Linked DNA regions of Homo sapiens: region 1 is linked to region 2. Evidence: promoter capture Hi-C in human tissues and cell types (Jung and others, 2019). All regions are on one chromosome and are shown on one strand. Each heading gives the region's core, a stretch centred on a gene start or on the middle of the fragment in contact. The rest is flanking DNA. Distances are from core to core; before and after follow the strand shown. Region 1 overlaps EIF2B1 (eukaryotic translation initiation factor 2B subunit alpha). Region 2 holds the start of SNRNP35 (small nuclear ribonucleoprotein U11/U12 subunit 35).

Region 1 (2,877 bases), core at 347-2,846, 160 kb after region 2:
AGGCATTTTCTTAAGCAGTGAACCATGCAGAATACTGTTGCTAAACATCGTTTCTGCCTTCCTCGTGTTCTCTTGGTAGTTTTTACTGTTTGGCTTGATCCTGCTGAGGAATGTGCTTACCACTGGAAGCCAGATGCAGATTCAGCAAGTGTTTCTTGCCTCTTACAAGGCACCGCGTGTAACGTCCTGACCAGCTGTTGGTCATTTGTGGCAGAGGGGTGTGGCTGCTTTTCGCCTGCATCTCGCGTGCTTTAGGCAGATCAGTCTGGAGTGCAGGGGAGGATGAAGACAGGTGGACTTGGGCTCATCTTTCATCAGTTAAGTAGCCAATTATCTAACTTGTATTTCTGGAAACTGAAAAGGAAAGTTTCTAGAAACCGTAAGAACAATTTAAGTTGGGATTTAGAATAGCTGACACATTTTTAGATGGGACTGAAATGAGTAAGAAAGGTTCTCCAAGATGTATGATTTTAAGTCCTTACTCCATAAATCTTCATTAAACACATCTCAGTTTTGGCCTGACTCACTGGGGTGTCAAGCAGCTACTCACCCTGCCTCAACTACGTAAGCTGCACCTTGGCAGGAAAGGGCTCACAGGTTACAGATAGAGCTTGATGAGCTCATCGCTGACTGCTGAGGGTGTCAGCACGCCCAGGTCTGTAAACAGCAGAGTGATTAAGGAAGGGGCAGTGTAGTCGACCCACGGATGCTCCTCTTTGAGGTCTTGTCCAGTCTGCGCGACCTTGAGAGTGTCTGCCTTATACTGAGGAGAGAAGTACACATTAGTCGGCACTGAATATTTAGTGCTCTGACCTGGTAGGGCCTTGGTGTGAGTGATCAGTGTGCTACTTCCTGAGACTGCTCTCTGAAAATGGGAGAAACTAAGCTATGCAGGACACTAGAGACGAGGGCAGAGTTGTGGCCATGAGCCAGATCATGGCAGTGTGCTGGCTGAGAGCTGTAGTGTAACAAACTTAAATCCCATGTCCCCTCATTCTCATGCCGGATTAACTTCTCCAGACCTCTCAAGGGAAGATCGAGAGTCACAATAGAGAGCTTGCAGCGTGCCAGGGACTGTGCTAAGATTATCTTAGAATCCTCATGACCCTGTCAGATACTGCTATGCCATTTTACAGACAAGAAAACCGGTTCAGAGGTTGAAATGAAAGGACTTGCCTCAACTCGCACAGTTTGTAAGTTGTGGTGATGGGAGCTGAGCTCAGTTAAGCCCAAAGCTGGGACTTACCCACCAGCTTCGGGCTTCCTCTCCACCCATCTATGGTGCTACTTAAAGAGACTGAAAGACTGAAGTTCTAGGGACAAATGTGTGAGTCCAATCACCAATTTATCTTTGTATTCCAAGTGTTGGGGAAAGTAGCAATAGGAAGTGAAAAAATTACTGGAACATTCTTAGGACTACAATTTCCAAAGGTTTCTGTTTAGACTTTAGTACCCCTTCAAATATGTAAAACTCTTGCCTTAAACTTATCTGGGACGTCTTGCTGGTTTAGTGGAAAGAGCCGGACAAACTTGAAACTTTCTGCAACCACATAGAAAGGTTTGTTCTGTGCTTTGGCACACACAGCCATCTGGTTGGTTCCAATCTGGGAAGGCAGAAAATGGAATGGATGAGCTCTAGAGTGCATCTGAAGTAGAAGCCACAGAAAAGCGGGCCGGGCACAGTGGTGCATGCCTGTATTCCAGCATTTTGGGAGGCCGAGGTGGGTGGATCACCTGAACCCATGAGTTTGGGACCAGCCTAGGCAACACGGTGAGACCTCGTCTCAATTACAATAAAGGAACAATTAAAAAACAGCAATAGAAAGTTATGTATATAATATAGATATACATATATCTAATACATATATTAGATATATCTAATTCTGACTTTGGAATCAAAAAAATAAATGTTTCTCAAAGGATATAGAAACAGCCACTAGAGGCTGGATGTGGTGGCTCACGCCTGTAATCCCAGCACTTTGGGAGGCCGAGGTGGGTGGATCACCTGAGGTCAGGAGTTTGAGACCAGCTGGCCAATATAGGGAAACCCCATCTCTACTAAAAATACAAAAAATTAGCTGGGCATGGTGGGATGGGGGGTGCCTGTAATCCCAGCTACTAGGGAGGCTGAAGCAGGAGACTCGCTTGAACCCGGGCACTGGAGGTTGCAGTGAGCCAAGACTGTGCCATTGCACTCCAGCCTGGACAGCAAGAGTGAAACTCCATCTCAAAAAATAAAAAAATTTAAAAAAACAAGTGTTGGCAAGGATGTAGAGAAATTGGAACCTTTGTGCTTTGCTAGTGGGAATGTAAAGTAGTGCAGCTGCTGTGGAAAATCATTAGTTTCTGAAAGTTAAATATATAGTTACCATGTGACTCAACACTCTGCCTGCAGACCTCCGCCTCCCAGGTTCAAGCGATTCTCCTGCGTCAGCCTGCCAAGTAGCTGGGATTACAGGCACCCGCCACCATGCCCAGCTAATTTTTTGTATTTTTAGTAGATATGGGGTTTCACCATGTTGGCCAGGCTGGTCTCGAACTCCTGACCTCAGATGATCTACCTGCCTCAGCCTCCCAAAGTGCTGGGATTATAGGCGTGAGCTACTACGCCCGGCCTTATGTTACATATATTTTAACTAAAAAAAGCTTTCATGAAGCTTTTCTAAATTAAATAATGGAGAGAGAGATTGTAATAAATTGAGGTCAAATGTGCTCAATTAAAATGAAAACAAATGACAGGCCGGCCACAGTGGCTCATGCCTGTAATCCTAGCACTTTGGGAAGTGGAAAGATTGCTTCAGGCTAGGAGTTCAAGACTGCAGTAAGCTATGATCACTGTACTACACTACAGCCTGGGCAACAGAGTGAATGTGTCTC
Region 2 (2,700 bases), core at 46-2,545:
TTGGGAGGCCAAGGCAGGCAGATCACTTGAGATCGGGAGTTCAAGACCAGCCTGACCAACATGGAGAAACCCCATCTCTACTAAAAATACAAAATTAGCCGGGCATGGTGGCACATGCCTGTAATCCCAGCTACTCGGAAGGCTGTCAGGAGAATTGCTTGAACCTGGGAGGCGGAGGTTGCGGTCAGCCGAGATCGTGCCATTGCACTCCAATATGGGCAACAAGAGTGAAACTCTGTCTCAAACAAAACAAAACAAAAACAAACAAACAAACAACAACATAGGGGTCTTGCTCTGTTGCCCAGGCTGACAGGCTGAACTTGAACTCCTGGCCTCAAGCCTCACGACTCAGCCTCCCTAGTAGCTGAAACTGCAGATGGCCTCCACTGACAGTGGCTACCATATATTTTCAAACATAAAATTTTAAGCTATAGATTTTTCTTTTTTTTGAGACGGACTTTCACTCTTGTTGTTCAGGCTGGAGTGCAATGGCACCATCTCAGTTCATCGAAACCTCTGCCTCCCGGGTTCAAGTGATTCTCCTGCCTCAGCCTCCTGAGTGGCTGGGATTACAGGCACATGACACCATGTCCAGCTAATTTTGTATTTTTAGTAGAGAAGGGGTTTCTCCATGTTGCTCAGGCTGGTCTCGAACTCCGAACCTCAGGTGATCCGCCCGCCTCGGCCTCCCGAAGTGCTGGGATTACAGGCGTGAGGCATGCCACCTGGCCTTTTTTTTTTTTTTTTTTTTTATAAAGAAATTGGGGCCGGGCGCGATGGCTCACGCCTGTAATCCCAGCACTTTGGGAGGCCGAGGCGGGCGGATCACTTGAGGTCAGAAGTTCGAGACCAGCCTGGCCAACATGGCAAAACCCTGTCTCTACTAAAAATACAAAAAATAGCCGGGCGTGGTGGCGGGCGCCAGTAATCCCAGCTACGCGGGAGGCTGAGGCAGGAAAATCACTTGAACCCGGGAGGCGGAGGTTGCAGTGAGCCGAGTTCGCACCACTGCACTCCAGCCTGGGCGACAGAGGGAGTCTCCGTCTCAAGAAAAAATAATAAATAAGAATAAATAAATAATAAAGTAAAATGTCCCAGGTAACTGCATATTCGATAGTCTTTCTTTCAACTTAGTTGTTGAATTAGCAATTTTTCTCTTAAAAAAATTTTTTTTTAGCTTATTGTCTTCGGAGATGATAACACCCTCGTTGCGTGGGAGTAAAATTTTAAAGGTAAAACAAACAGGAAACGAGCGTCGGCGGCGAATCTGCTGCTACCAATGTAAAGGTCAGGCCGAGGCCGGCGCGGAGAATCTGCTGTCGCCTGCAGCTGCTCGCCTGTCTCCGTCGGAAGGGAGCCCAAGCTTTGCAGAGGTGAGTGGAAGCGGCTTGGAAGGAGCGGGCCCCACGCCGGAGAGAAGGAAGAGGGAGTGCGGCCCAGACGCTGTGCCCGCGCTTGTGTGGGGCGCCATGTTGAAACCTGGCAAAGGGGACGACATTCTGGGTTGCGTTGCGGGGAGTGGGGACGAGAGCTGGATTGGAAGGATGGCGCCTTACTCCCTGCGGCCCCCAGAGAAGGAGAGGGGCGGGGGAGCGGCCTCGAGGGTTGGCGGCCAGGCTGCAGGCTGGATGGGAAGGATAGGCTTTTCCACAGAAACTTAGGTGTTTGCCTCCGAGGCCCACTGCGCATGCCCTGGAGGGCTCTGTGGGTTCCGCCTTCAGTTTTGCTTTTCACAGGAGGGGCAAAGTCTTTTTTTTTTTTTTTTCCTTTTTGAGACAGTCTTGCTCTGTCGCCCGGGCTGGAGTGCAGTGGTGCGATCTCGGTTCACTGCAACCTCCGCCTCCTGGGTTCAAGCGATTCCACTGCCTCAGCTTCCCGAGTAGCTGAGACTACAGGCGCCCGCCACCACGCCCTGCTAATTTTTTGTATTTTACTGGAGACGGGGTTTCACCATGTTAGCCAGGATGGTCTCGATCTCCTGTCCTCGTGATCCACCCGCCTCGGCCTCCCAAAGTGCTGGGATTACAGCCGTCAGCCACCGTGCCCGGCCAGGAGGGGCAGAGTCTTACCCCGAAGACCCAGGAAGGAGAGGCTTCATTTATTTTTTTGTTTTTCCCCAGAGACAGGGAGTCGCCCAGGCTGGAGAGCGGTGGCGCGATCTCGGCTCACTGCAGCGTCGACATTTCGGGTCAAGCAGTCCTCCCGCCTCAGCCTCTCAAGTATCTGGGACCACAGGCGCGACCCCACGCCCGGAGAATTGATTATTGATTGATTGATTGAAACGGGGTCTCACTTTGTTGCCCAGGCTGGTCTCGAATTTCTGGGCTCAAGCGATCCTCCAGCCTCGGCCTCTCAAAGTGCTGGTATTACAGGCGTGAGCCAGCGCGTGCCTGGCCAAAAATTTTCTAAATTTGTATAATAATTTATAATTGTAATGCATTTTTATAGACACCATATGATCTAATCTTCACAAAAACCTAGTGAAGTGACATTTAGCTACATTTCACAATAAGAATCCTGAAGCTCAAAATTTACTGACCTCAAATAATCCACCCGCCTTGGCCTCCCAAAGTGCTGGGATTACAGGCATGAGCCACCGCGCCCTGGCCCCCACCATTCATTTCGGCTCTCATCCCCTGTTGATGAGTAAAATGAGAATGAGGCCCAGGCGCGGTGGTTCACGCCTGTAATCCCAGCACT

Evidence for each region. The method cuts DNA at HindIII sites, captures the fragments that hold promoters and counts their contacts. A contact is called where the count stands out against the background at its distance.
Region 1: a contact is called between a fragment that was not itself captured here and the fragment with the promoter of SNRNP35 in region 2, in 2 of the 25 tissues and cell types used here (H1 embryonic stem cells and dorsolateral prefrontal cortex).

Annotation. Positions count from the first base shown.
Region 1 is chr12:123,621,158-123,624,034 of GRCh38, forward strand. It overlaps EIF2B1 (eukaryotic translation initiation factor 2B subunit alpha), which reads right to left. Exons shown (of 9, transcript NM_001414.4): 8 at 1,479-1,604; 9 at 1-763. The coding sequence ends at 599. Among named protein-coding and RNA genes, the nearest start is that of SNORA9B, 5.9 kb to the left of the region's middle. RefSeq lists an enhancer at 220-1,419. The HindIII fragment of the contact is 7,939 bases long and covers 1-2,877 here.
Region 2 is chr12:123,456,844-123,459,543 of GRCh38, forward strand. SNRNP35 (small nuclear ribonucleoprotein U11/U12 subunit 35) reads left to right here and starts at 1,296. Exons shown (of 2, transcript NM_022717.4): 1 at 1,296-1,373. RefSeq lists enhancers at 983-1,849, 1,524-1,603, 1,850-2,700. The HindIII fragment of the contact is 15,518 bases long and covers 1-2,700 here.